Linked DNA regions of Homo sapiens: regions 1, 2 and 3 are each linked to region 4. Evidence: promoter capture Hi-C in 16 types of primary human blood cells and fetal thymus (Javierre and others, 2016). All regions are on one chromosome and are shown on one strand. The core of a region is centred on a gene start or on the middle of the fragment in contact, and the rest is flanking DNA. Distances in the headings are between cores, read along the strand shown.

Region 1 (3,197 bases), core at 551-3,050, 300 kb after region 4:
TCCTCTTCCATTCCAACCCAGGCCTCCACTGAGCCGTCCACATCCAGGATTCCCACCGCTCAGCCCCTCACCCCCGGCAACAGCCTAGTAATGACCCTGGGCTCCTGCACGTGGCCCCCTGGTGCAAGGGCAAAATTAAAGCAGGCTGGACAGCAGCATAGTTATTTGCTGCCGGGCAGTGACTTCCTCCCCCACTCAGCTGCGCGGGGGACAGGCGGGCCTTATGGAAACCAGAGGCAGAGCAAAGCTTTAATTTTCATGGCCGGGCCAGGAGGCCCAGAGGCCCAACATGGGCCCGCGCAGCCTCAGCCAGGTGCCCCGAGCAGGACACGTTGCTTCGGAAGGAAGCAGCATGTTTTCGGGGACCCTGTGGTTTCTGGGTGCTGCTGTTCCCACCTGGCGAGCGCTGCCTTCTGCACGCTGCCAGGGCTGTGTGTGTACGCCGTCCCTCATTCCCTCGTGCAGCCTGGGAAAGCCTTACCCAGTGCTGGGCCCCTGAAGTTTCCTCCCAGGGGATGCAAAGGAAGGGAAGGCACCAGGGTCCCCAGGAGAAAATAGGTTTCTCTGAGCCAGGGACCCACTCGGCCAGTGGGCGAGGGCAGCAACCTGGAGCTGGCACTGTGGGTTCCTTTTGGGTCTGTTCAGGAAAGTGGGAGTCGGGTCGCATGGCCCCCCGCCTGGAGCTTGGCAGTGCCCAGGGGGCCTTGGGTGGGCGCAGTGACCCTGGGCGCCCTGTGCCGCCGTCCTCCTCTGCCACACACTCAGCCTGCTGTGGCACCAACAAACCCCTACCAAGCACCTACTGTGTGTCACACGTGTGCCAGATCTGGTTCCCCACCCCTGGGCTGGGGGCTGTCCCTGCCCCTGAGGGTCAGGAAGAGGAAAGGCGCGTGTGGCTGGGTTTGGGAAGGAAGGAGAGGCAGTGAGGAGGGGACCTCCTGGCCAATACAAGTGCTCCCTCCCGCCTCTTCCTCCTTATATTGGGCAGGCCCACACCCCAAAGCCCCACTGTATTCCACCACAGGACCTGAAAGAGCTCTGGACCATGGGGTGATCCATGGGGTTGGTGGTGCCCCCAGAGTCAGCCAACAGACAAGGAGAGGGAATACTGGGGGCTCTGTGCTAGGCAGCCAGCGGCCCTGAATGTTAGCTGCAGGCAGAGGTGTCAGGCCCTGAAGCTGCCACTGCACACACAGGTCATAAATCCCGCCTAAGTGGCTCCCGTCACCTCGCCGCGGCCTCGTTTCCATTCTGCAGCAGCCAAAGGTGATTAATGAGAATTATCATTTGTGCTAATCAGAGCCGTTTGGAGGAGGTTGGGGTGGAAGGAAATGCCCTTTGTGGGGCTGCAGGGACGACTTTGAAGGCTGTCAGCTGCACGTGTTTATGTGCGCAGGGATGCACGTGCACACACATGCACACATACACACACGCACACATGCACACAAACGCACACGCATGCACACATGCACACACACGCACACACGCACACAAACATGCACACATACGCGCACGCACACACACATACACATACATGTTCATGCCACATACGCACAGAACTGGCCTGTGGGGCCAGGGAGGGTCTGGGAAGATGGCGAAGAGGTGAGGCTAAGAAATAACCCTTGACCTGTGGCTCAGGGGGGCTCTAGCGCCCCGATGTGCCGACAGCCGGAGAACACAGGCTTCGCACAGCTTGGTCCGGCTGGAATGAATTCTTTCCTGCCACTGAGCACGACCATGACTTAATGCGCTTGGCGGCCGCTCGCAGACTAGACAGGCTTGGCCAAAATCAGACCCAGTGCAGCAGGACTCCGGGACGCGCTGATGTCCTGACGGGAAGGCACGCACTCTCTGTGGGTTCTGCCTTCTCCCCTCAAGTGGACGGCCGTGTCCCCTGCCCTGGGCCCTCCATGCCTGTTCGCGCTCAGTATGCCGGGACACTCTCTTCCCACCCATCTCCCAGGCTGTGCCGACCAGGGCTGTGCAGCGGGCCTCCCAGCCTCCGTAGCCTGCTCCGGGGGCCAGTGTGGCTTAAAGATACAAAGTGTCCTTTTATTGGAAATATCAATTCAGAAAGGGGCTAGTAGTAAGCTGAGAATATTTGGATAATCTTGACAGCCCTGAGGACTAAAAAAGACCTTTTGTTCCCAGAGAGAAAAAGGCCGTCGCACCACCCTGGGCTTGCTGGAGCAGTTCCAGAAAAAACTGAGGTCGGAGCAGAAAAATGATTAGGGCGTCTCGTGAAAGATCTCTACTCTAGGTCAAATGTTTATTATTATTTATTTTATTTTTTTACTAGAATGTGTGGTTAACATGCTATTGCATAACATCAGGCTGTAACCGTGTCTGTGAACACCACGTCAGTCTACCCGGTCTGTAGTGCACAAAGAGAACTTTGTAGCATCCCGGGGAGTGAGGGGGCTGCACGTGCGTGTTTTGTTTTGCTAGGCTTTGTTTTCAGGATGCTGACGACCGGTTAAAGATGGAGCAAGGGCCGGGCACAGTGGCTCACGCCTGTAATCCCATCACTCTGGGAGGCCGAGGCCGGTGGATCACCTGAGGTCAGGAGTTCGAGACCAGTCTGGCCAACATGGTGAAACGTCATCTCTACGAAAAATACAAAAAATTACCCGGGCGTGGTGTTGGACCACTGTAATTTCGGCTCCTGGGGAGGCTGAGGCAGGAGAATCTCTTGAACCCGGGAAGCAAAGGTTGCAGCGAGCCGAGATGGCACCATTGCACTCCAGCCTGGCCTGGGCAACAAGAGCAAAGCTCTGTCTCAAAAAAAAAAAAATTGATGGAGCAAGCATCTTTAGTGTTTGCGGCTCAAGAACATAACTGCCATGGGGAGGTCTCTGCTCCATTTGGACAGGAAGCGTGTGCGGGTTTCATGGCAGACGTGACTTGGGAGGGGTCTTGTCTGGCAGAGGAAAGTTGAATTCAAGCTCTTTGCTGTGGTTGAGCCAGGTGGGGACACCCCTAGATGCTACCTTTCAGCTGATCCCAGGCCTAACGCACCCACAGCCAAATGGCTTTTGGGGAGTGGCTGGAATGTGACAGCTGCCGGCCCAACAGCTCTCAAAAGTGCCGGGCTCAAGCGTCCATTGTCCAAAAACACGTGCGGTCCTGTGGTTCCCTAGGTTCACAAGGAGAACTTCTTCCCCGCTGTAGACTACGTGTATAAATAGAACATATTG
Region 2 (3,265 bases), core at 168-2,667, 320 kb after region 4:
GTGCCCGGGGTCCCCGGCCCCTTACATCACAGTAGTCTGGTTTTTCCTGTAATATCTTGGGGTCATACATGAGATTTCATTTGAAAAAAAAGAAAAGGATCCCATGGCTGTGAAAAATGTGTGTGAAGACCACGTCACGGAACATTCCCGCGTAGCCTGTGCAAGCCATTGAAAGTGATTCAAGGCTCTCGACTTTACAGAAACAATTTTGCATTAAGAAATGCACAGAGCAAACTCCAGGGAGGTCCCGCAGGCCCCGGCTGGCTGCCAGGGGCTCTCCCTCATTTGCCGTCCCCTTGGCTGTGGAGCAGAATCTCCATCGAGCAGTTGCTCCGCTGGACAAGCTCGTTCTGGATGGGGACATGAATCTACGCTACTACCAGGACTTCCGTGGCCTTCAGTTAGAGCCAAAAATGTTTAAAATAACTTTTTCTGATTGAAAAAAAAATACAGAGATGAAGCAAAAGAATAATCATAAACATAAGAGCAGAACTTAAAAAAATTTTTTTCTTTCTTCCAGATGAAAGTGAAATTGGAGTGAAGGAAAATTGGGCTTGAGGCGCATAGAAGGACGGTCTTTCCGTCCCCTTCTGGGGCTCAGATTTGCAGAGTGTGTCCTTAGTCGTCCGTTGGGAAGCTGACGGGCAGGGGCACCGCGGGGCTGGGCCAGGGCTGTGCTTTTGTGAGATGCAAACTATAGTAATGAAGGGCCCAGATTTTTTTTATTTAAGAAATAAATGTTTATTAGAACTTTTGAACTAAACTTAAGCGGTAAAGTGGGTATCTTTATGTGTCTAGCTTTTTAAAAAACAAACGTGTAATCTCAAAGAGAAGCCTGTCTTTAAAAAAATCTTCATTGTATTATTAATATTTCGGGGAAGCTTTCCTTTTAGCTACACATGAGGTCCAAAAGGAATGGACTGCTTTGCAGCCAACTGTGTTTCCATGGTCAGGACCAGGGGGCAGAAATCCTTTTTGCCAGGATGGAAGAATGATCCTGAATCCTGATCCGTTCCTTCCCTTTACCCCACCGTCATCCCACAGTGCCGACTTCCTCCAAAGCTCCGTCCTAGAGTCAGAAACATACTTGGCGCTATTACCCAAACCACAGATAATGTCAAAACTCCTCAGATACCTCCTGACCTGCTAGATGGCTCTCTCCAACACCGCCTCAAGGGATTCGTTCTCTCTGTTTTAGGTCCATAGGCTGAATTAAAGCCACAAACCCAGAGGGAACTCGAAATGCACATTTAAGCAAATGCAACACCAAAATGGCCCAAAGCAGAGAGAAATTCCTCCACTCGGGGCACTTCCGACCCCCTCAACCCCCTTGTGAGACCTTCCCCTCCGACAGGGAGAGGAGCCCTCTGCTCTTGAGAGCACCCCTCATAGGTAGCACAGCCGGTGACGTCGGGTGTTACAGGGCCACCGACGCTCCTGCCCATGTCCCCGCAAAGGTGCACCTCCGAGCTGGATAAGCCATGTGGCTGGAATGCCCGGGAAAGCAGGAGCCGGCCAGAGGCTGGAGGAGACTCGCCGCCCAGGCACGGGGAGTGAGGTGGCTGAGTTGGCAGCTTCTTCTCCTGAAATCTCAACCGTGAATTTCAGTTATCAAACGAAAATGAGCATTGTGTGGAATGTATTTTCCTTTGAATAATAATAAGATTTAAACACTACAAATATGAAAAACTGCTCTCAGAAACCCATAGACTCTCATAGGACATGACTTTTAGCAATGCCTTTTGAAAGGGATATAATAGATTTCAATCTAGTGTTTAAATGCCCTCTCGCGCGCTGTGACGGCTGTGACGGCCGCACGGCCTCGGCAGAAAGCATTTCCATTCCCTGGCCTTGACCACGGGAACGTGGGTTCCTGCAAAGCAACCTATTTGACCCTATGCGGAGCTAAAATAAAAACTGCCCTGAAATATTAATAAAGCCAAGAATTTTTTAAAAGCTTTTAACAACTTCTCTTTGAGAAGGAAACATCACATGATACTAATGCCATTTCTCAGATTTCCACCATGCCAGGAGTTCCACCAGGATTTCCTGGTACTTACGAACACCATCCCCACACACAAACACACACAAGTGAACAATCTTCCTCCCTTCCCCTCTCTCTCTCCCTCTCTCTTTCTCTGTCTCTCTCTTTCTCTGTCTCTCTCTTTCAAGATTGCACACACACCCCCACCTCTAATACAGCACAGACACAGAAGGGAAGGAACCATATCTGAACATCCGAGCTCCGTAAAACAACGTCGAGTTTGCCAAATGGTATTCGGCAGGGAAAATACTTCGGTCAGAAAAGCATCACCATCATTTTGAGGTTCAAGACATGTGACCTCAGCCCCCATTTTCAAAGGAAAAAGGAGACTAGGGCAGAAGACAGTGTAAACGTCCTAAAAAGAAAGTTCTGGAAGCCACAGCCTCCCAGAAGAGATGAGCTCCTCTACTGGGCTGAGGAGAGAGGCCGCTCTGAACTGAAAACTCAGGTCGATATTCAGATGGGGACCCAGGCTGGGGCTTTCCCCGAGTCTCCTGCTACTGGCAGCCAGGACTTAAGCAAACTCTGGGGCCTGGCCTCCAGGGTGCTCCTATGTCCTTGGGGTGAGACCCACACTTTAGGGGCACTTTGGAGGCGGGGGAGTCACACACCTCCTTCAGCCCATCCCGGGCTCCTCCTGGCCTTCACTGGATGTGGGTTGCTGTGCATTCAGATGGGGTCTGGGGGCAGACGCCACCCCCGCATCCCTCATGGTTCCATGCAGTGTACTGGCGCTCTAGCTGATGCTTTGGGGCGCTCCAGGGCACCTGCTGAGCTGGGCAGTGCAGCACCCACAGGCCCGGTTCTGACTGTCTGGCCAGGACCCAATTCTGGCTGCTCAGAAGCCTGCTCAAATCACTGACCACGTGTCCCTCTCCCAGCATCCCCTAACACGCCCCAAGACACCTGCCCTGTACAAAAGAGGACCGGCCATGTGCTCCTCTGCAGCCACTGGGGAGAGGCAGGGGACAGGGGCTTGAGAACATGTGAGCCCCGGAGCTTGAAAAGGCTCAGCAACCAGCCAGCACCTCCCCAGAGGCTCCCCACTGCCCTGCCGCCTCGCAGTGCCTCATGGACGGAGGCAGGACCGGCTAAGCTGAGGGAGGCATGGAGGCCCCGACACCCTCCTTCCCAGGCAGGGCTGGCCCAGCATCCTGTTCCTTCCCCATCTCAGGCCCCATGGGAATCGGACCGTCCTCTCCATGAACAAGAGCTATCCCT
Region 3 (3,060 bases), core at 219-2,718, 340 kb after region 4:
TTCCCGTGCCCTCCTCTGAGTCTTCCTCCCCTCCCTTCCCCCGCCTCGCCCCCCAACAGGTGTAGACAAAGGGCCCCCTGGTGGGACACACCCTGGGGATATGTGCCCCTTCTGGGACACTGGCGCTGCGGGCAGAGCAGGTGCAGGATCCCGTGGCCAGAGCCGCAGGTGTCCCCTGGCTCCGACCGCAAATGTCCTGGCCCCAGAAAGCCACCTCCTAGGCTCATGGCCCTGCCTGCCAGGGCTGCGCTGCGGGGAGAAACTAGAAAGGAGAAAAACTCAGGCCAGAGCCCAGACCTGCAGCCGCTAAGCCCAAGGCTACTTCTGTAATAAGGTCCCAGACCGGGATGGGGGTGGCAGCACCCACCACCAAGGGATTCATGGTGGCCCCACCCTCCGGACACACGAGCAGCTCCTTCTCAGATGGTAGGCAAGAGCCAGAAGGGGTCACCCCTATCCCCAAGGCACCAGCCCTGCTCCCCACCAGGTGGCAGCGGACTGTCCCAGGAGGGGCTTCAGAGACATGAGCGGGCCCACGGTGGCCCTCCCCTGCCCTGAGACCAGGCAGGAGCCAGCATCTGGGGCCTGGGCGGCCTTGGGGACCTGTGGCCCCCGGGAAAGACAAGATTCCTGGTCTCTGTGGGGAGTGAAACCAGGACATTCAGTCCAGTGCTGTAAGGAGCTATGGAGACTTTTCCAACCTGGGCCCCTCCTCCTGCCTTTGAGGATTTCCTCCAGGACAGCCTCGCAAAGTCAGAGCAAAGCCCATCAGGCCACTAACCGGCTATGTGATTGCTGGGGATTACCGCCCATCCCCGCACCGCTCCCTGGGGACGGCAAACCCTCCACCCGGAACAGATGACTGAGAAAATAAACGTTTGGGCAAATCCCAACTGCGGCCCTTCCCAGTAAACGCCGCTCAAGAGGGTCCGTGTTTTCTTTACATAAACACATAAATCACAATTAACAACGGGGGAAAAGATACAGTCTCCTGATGCTCGGGAACCAGGCGTTTCTGATCTGAATGGATGGCTGGGCCCCGTAATTAACGAGCCGTGATATATCACTGCTTTGCTCATGAAGATTAACGGTCATCCCTGGGACAAGGGAAGCCGGGGGTCCCCCAAGAGCAGGGAATTAGAGCGACTCCTTCATCCAAGTGCAGCGGCCCCTCCGAGCAGCTGTGCTCGGGTCCCCTCCGTGTCACCTGGAGACCCCCGAGTGACTCCCGACCTGCGTCCTCGGTGTGTGCCCAGCACTCAGAGGGGCATCCTTGGGTTTGGGGGACTTGCCCCACTCCTGGGTTCATGCCAGTGTTGAACCCCTTTTTTCTTAGGCCCAAGCCTAGCTGCAAGGCCAGGACCAGCTTGAGAGGCACCCAGGGAGTGTGGGCCGGGGTCCGGCACTGCCTCCAGCCGCCCTGGGGGTGGTCTTGGGTGAGGGATGGAACCATCCAGGTGCCGGCTTCCCCATCTGCTAGGGGAAGGCCGCCTCTGCCCCTCACAGCCCGGCCACGGCAGAGAGGAGGTGGGCAGGGAGACACCAGCATGTGCTCTGATCCCTCGGCAGCGTGGTGGGGGCTCCGAAGGGGCACTGGGAACAAGCTGTATGGTTGGGGTCCCCTCCCGGGCAGAGGGCAGGTAGTCGGGCCCCGCAGTGAGCCTCGTCCTCTGCGCAGCCTGGAGCAGCACATGGTCATCCACACGGAGGAGCGCGAGTACAAATGCGACCAGTGTCCCAAGGCCTTCAACTGGAAGTCCAACCTCATCCGCCACCAGATGTCCCACGACAGCGGCAAACGCTTCGAATGTGAAAACTGCGTGAAGGTAACCTGCGGGGCGGCCCCGTCTCAGCCCCGGGGCAGCAGGAGGCTGCAGACGGGCGCCCGCCCCCGTGCTCCCTACACCCCCTGGTCCAAATGTAGATGGAGTGCGGCAGAGTGGGTAGGAGGCCCCTGCGGTGGCTCGGGCCCTTCCGTGTGACTAGGAAGGAAAGGAAGTCTCAGGGAAGACCGTGTCCCCCAGGTCAGAAGGATCAGGGCCGAGACCAGAACCCAGGCCCCTCCAGAGCGCGGCTCCTGTCCTCCCGCCGGTGTGGAAGGAAGAGGCTGGCGGGGCTGAGCCGAGCCTCCACCCCGAGCCCGCCAGGGTCTCAGCACCACAGCTGAAAACGCTTTCTGCAGCCCTGTCTCACGCAGCCTCAGTTCAGGAATTGTTCTTGAGGAAAGCAGCCGGGGAGGCTCTGCGGCTCACTTAAGGCCCTGCAGCGGGTCCTTGCTACACAGAGACCTGTCCCGGCCTGCTTGGTGCAGACTGCAACGTGGCAAGAGAGACAGGCAGGGCCCTGCCCCCCACAGCCGGTTGGTCCGCCAGCCAGAACCAGGCCAAGGCGGGTGTCCAGGCAGGGCACGCGCCAACGGCATCCGTCTCCCCAGGTGTTCACGGACCCCAGCAACCTTCAGCGGCACATCCGCTCGCAGCACGTGGGCGCTCGGGCCCACGCCTGCCCCGACTGCGGGAAGACCTTCGCCACGTCCTCCGGCCTCAAGCAGCACAAGCATATCCACAGCACGGTGAAGCCTTTCATATGTGAGTGGTCGCCCAGCCTGGCCGCCTGCCCTCCGGGTGCGCGGATGCCGTGGCGGTCGGGCCGAGGTGGGCCATCCCCCAAGGTCTCCCCCGATCCGAGGGGCCCCAGTTTGTTCATAAAGCACTCATGGCAGGTTCTGACATCTCTGCCGCGTGCAGCCTGGTCCCCGGCAGGCACCCTCTGAGTTTGTCCCTCACTGCTCCCCTTCCCCATCCCGTCCTCCTCCACGGCTCCCCTTGCTTCACCTCACAGGGGCTGGAGGGGGGCAGTGGGTGATGGGAGGGACCAGGGTCCTGCAGAAGGAGCTGGACCCTCCCTCCCTGTTGCTACTCCCGTCCCCCGAACTCACTCCCCACCTGTGCCGAGCTCCAGAAGGGCGTGCTTCTGTGCTGCCCTGCACGTGACAGTCTCAGCAGACACCCACTGGGATTGTCAGGGCGGTGTCTCTAGGGGGCCCTGTCTGTGCCCAGT
Region 4 (3,011 bases), core at 373-2,872:
CGGCCCCGCGCCCCTCCCCATCCGGGGCGCCTCTGCTAGGACACCGGGGTCTCGGGGTTTCTCAGGGCTGCTGCGTTTCACCTCCTTTAACGCGGAGGCGCGGAGTTGCACGTGTGGGTCTCAGTGGAGCCGCCACAGGTCTTATTACACAACAAAGGGCAGGGAGGGCAAGGCCAGGAGCCTCGCGGGGCGGCGCAGAGACCCCGCATCGCGGGCGCGACCCCTGCCTCGGGCTCAGGCTGACTCTGCGGCAGCTCCAAGTCCCGTTGCCGGGCAGGACTTCGGTGCTCCGGAAGGGTGCGGGGCAGCAACCTGGCCAGGGCAGCGCCTCGGTTTCCTTCCAATTCATTCTCGATTCCCAGATACTCAGATGAGAAATCCGCACTCAGGCCGTCAGGCTCCTGGGCCCGGGCCACCCTGCCTGCGCTCAGCCCGGCCCCTCCGCCGCAGCGCCTCGGAGTTTGGGGGCTACAGGGGAAGAGGAAGCGTCTGGTCGGCTCCCGTCCGAGCTGCTCCACCTGCGCCGCTGGCCTTTCCGCCCGCTACGCACCTGGGCCCCGAGAGGCCAGAGGGGAGTGTCCCCAGTGGCCCGGGTCCCCGAAGGTGGCCCAGCTCGGGCGCTCGCGCAGCCGGGTACTCACCTTGGGGGCGCGGCGGCAGGAGAGCGCGGGCGGAGAGGTGCGGGCGCCCTGGGACGACCAGCCGAGGACGCCTGGTGTTTGGACGGCTGCCCCCGCGCTGTCCCCCCGTGCGAGGCGTGTTGGCCTCCGTGGCCTCGCGAGGGACCGAGGGCGGCGGGTCCGAGTGCCGCCCGCCGGCCTGGGCAGTGGCGGAGCGCGGAGCTGGCGGCGCCTCCGCTGTTGTTTTTGAGCCGCGAAGCCCGAAGCAGCAGCCGTTGGGTGGGGGCGAAGGGGAGGAGGCGGGGGCCGGGAGGCGCGAGGGGGGCGGTGGGGCCCGGAGGGGGCTTCGGAGGAGCCGGGTTCTGGCGCGCGAGCCCCGACGCCCCCTCCAGCGATCGCAGGGCGGGGACGGGGGCCGAGGGGAGAATGCAGGAGAAAAGCGGGCCGGGGCGACGGGGAACGCAAAGCTTTTAAATTAGTAATCAAACGCAGTAAAACGGAGCAAAACCAGCCCGGACTCGCGTCCGAACTATCGGCGCGTGTGCCCCGAGATCCAAGGAAGTCGTGTGGAAAACCGCAGCCGCCGCCCCATCTTCGGCCCCGGCTGGGGCGGGAGCAGCAGCGCGACGCGCCGCGACGCAGGGGCAGGGTGGGGGGATAGTCACCTCGCCTCCGGGGCCACCTGGGTCCTTTTAAAGTGTCCGGGGTGCGGGCCCCGGGCGGGAGCGCCGAACACGGAATGTTTTCTTAAAGGGCCAGTTCCGAGCTGCGCTGAAAAGGGGGGGGGGGAGAGGGGGGAGAGATAAGTGAGACGAAGACCGAGAAGGCCGAGGAGAGCCCCCCAATCCCGCGCCGAGGCGGCGGCGGCGGCGGCGGCGGCGCGACGATGAGGATGATGAATACATTGCAAAGTTTTTTTGGCCCCGGCGAGGGGTGTCAGATTGAGTGCTCTGTGCGCATGTGCGAAGGTGTCCAAACTGACAATGCTGGGGAGATGAAGATAGTGTGTGGCTGCTTCTGGACTCAAGGAGGAGGAGAGAGATTCCGCGAGCCGACACCATGCGATCCAAGGCGAGGGCGAGGAAGCTAGCCAAAAGTAAGTCTCCCGCGCTCGGCCGCGCCGCGCCGCCGGGGCCCGGGCCGCCGGGCCGGGGCGCCCGGGCCAGGGGTGCGCGTCGGGGCGCGGCCGGCGCGCCTGCGGCTCCGGGCCCCCGGCTCGGCCGCGCGGCCCGGGGGGCTGCTCCGCCTCCCGCGCTCCGGGGCGACCGGGCTCGGCGCGGAGGCTCGGGGCGCCCGGGCCGCGCGCTCCCCGAAGGCGCCGGCCCCCTCCCCGCGGAACCCCCTCCCCCCCCACCAGTGTCAGGCGCTCGGGCCCGGGAACCCGAGGCGCGCGGTGGGGGCCGGGGAGGGGGGCGGAGGGGGAGGGCCGGGGGTGGAGGGGAGCGAAAAGTGAAAGTTAGCGAAAAGTTGACGAAAGGGGAGAGCAACTTTTTCCTCCCCGCTCGCTCTCTCCCTCTCTCTCTCCGAGTGGCTCTCAGTCCTGGTCAAATCATATTCCGGGCTTTTGAAATAGTGGGCGCTAGAGCACCGCCTTTGGCGTCCGCCAGCCGGGCGCAGAGGAGGGAGACCCCGAGCCGGGGAGGGGCGGAGGAGGGGGCGCGGGCCGGCGCCCACCCGGCTCCGCGGGCGCAGGGGCAGGGGTGGCGACGGCGGGACAGCCGCAGCCACTTGGGGAGCAAAATGGAGACTTTTGCCCGGGCTGGGAACTGTGGTCGTGAAGTTTATCCCCGGCTGTGCCCCGCGTGGTGGAGGGCGCTCCTCTGGGACGCCGGCAGCCTGCGCGGGCCGCCGGGGCGACAGTGCCTCCGACAGGAGGGACCCACCCGGCCACCTCCCGACCCGCCGCTGCCGCCCTCGGGCCCGCGTGGACCCCTCTGTACCCGCTTGCCTGGCACAGCCGGGCCCGGCGGGGACAGAGCTGCCCCGGCCAGGCTGCCCGGTCCTCGGTCTTACTTTCTCTTTCGCTCCGTCTCGGCCGAGCCCCGGGCTCCGCGCGCCCCGCCTGCCGCCAGCCGGTCCTTGCCGCGGGCCGGGTGCTCCAGCCACCCGCGCCCTCGCCCGCCACAGCGCCTCCGAGCAGCCCGCGCGCACCCCGCAGCCCCGGTCGCCGGCGCCATCCGCGGTGAGGCGGGCGGGCAGGTGAGGACAGGCGGAGCCGCGGCCCGGCCAGCGCGGCTCCCGCAGCCCCGCCGAAGCCCCGGCTGCAGCGAAGCGGCCAGCGCCGCGCGGAGCGGAATCGGCGCCGCCTGCTCCCGCCGCCCCCTCCTCTGCAGGCCGCCCGCCCGCCCACCCGCAGAAGAGGCGCCCGGGCCGCTCCCCTCGAGGTCCCCG

The links. The method cuts DNA at HindIII sites, captures the fragments that hold promoters and counts their contacts. A CHiCAGO score of 5 or more calls a contact.
Region 1: a fragment that was not itself captured here is called in contact with the fragment with the promoter of PRDM16 in region 4 in 3 of 17 cell types (megakaryocytes, M0 macrophages and M1 macrophages); the score reaches 8.6 in megakaryocytes.
Region 2: a fragment that was not itself captured here is called in contact with the fragment with the promoter of PRDM16 in region 4 in 1 of 17 cell types (endothelial precursors); the score reaches 6.2 in endothelial precursors.
Region 3: a fragment that was not itself captured here is called in contact with the fragment with the promoter of PRDM16 in region 4 in 2 of 17 cell types (megakaryocytes and endothelial precursors); the score reaches 7.3 in megakaryocytes.

The regions. Positions count from the first base shown.
Region 1 is chr1:3,364,494-3,367,690 of GRCh38, forward strand. The region is part of intron 3 of PRDM16 (PR/SET domain 16); the gene reads left to right. Among named protein-coding and RNA genes, the nearest start is that of ARHGEF16, 89 kb to the right of the region's middle. The HindIII fragment of the contact is 3,111 bases long and covers 246-3,197 here.
Region 2 is chr1:3,386,156-3,389,420 of GRCh38, forward strand. All of the region lies in intron 4 of PRDM16 (PR/SET domain 16), which reads left to right. Among named protein-coding and RNA genes, the nearest start is that of ARHGEF16, 67 kb to the right of the region's middle. RefSeq lists enhancers at 985-1,485, 1,486-1,986. The HindIII fragment of the contact is 1,076 bases long and covers 880-1,955 here.
Region 3 is chr1:3,403,061-3,406,120 of GRCh38, forward strand. PRDM16 (PR/SET domain 16) reads left to right here. Exons shown (of 17, transcript NM_022114.4): 7 at 1,679-1,826; 8 at 2,435-2,588. Among named protein-coding and RNA genes, the nearest start is that of ARHGEF16, 50 kb to the right of the region's middle. RefSeq lists an enhancer at 503-1,003. The HindIII fragment of the contact is 6,765 bases long and covers 1-3,060 here.
Region 4 is chr1:3,067,581-3,070,591 of GRCh38, forward strand. PRDM16 (PR/SET domain 16) reads left to right here and starts at 1,623. Exons shown (of 17, transcript NM_022114.4): 1 at 1,623-1,716. The coding sequence starts at 1,680. LOC124903827 (translation initiation factor IF-2) reads right to left here. Exons shown (of 5, transcript XM_047436614.1): 1 at 2,634-3,011; 2 at 642-1,391; 3 at 1-468. The coding sequence ends at 1,368. PRDM16-DT (PRDM16 divergent transcript) reads right to left here and starts at 145. Exons shown (of 6, transcript NR_015440.1): 1 at 1-145. It also overlaps the pseudogene LOC100420339. RefSeq lists an enhancer at 1-516. The HindIII fragment of the contact is 3,548 bases long and covers 1,086-3,011 here.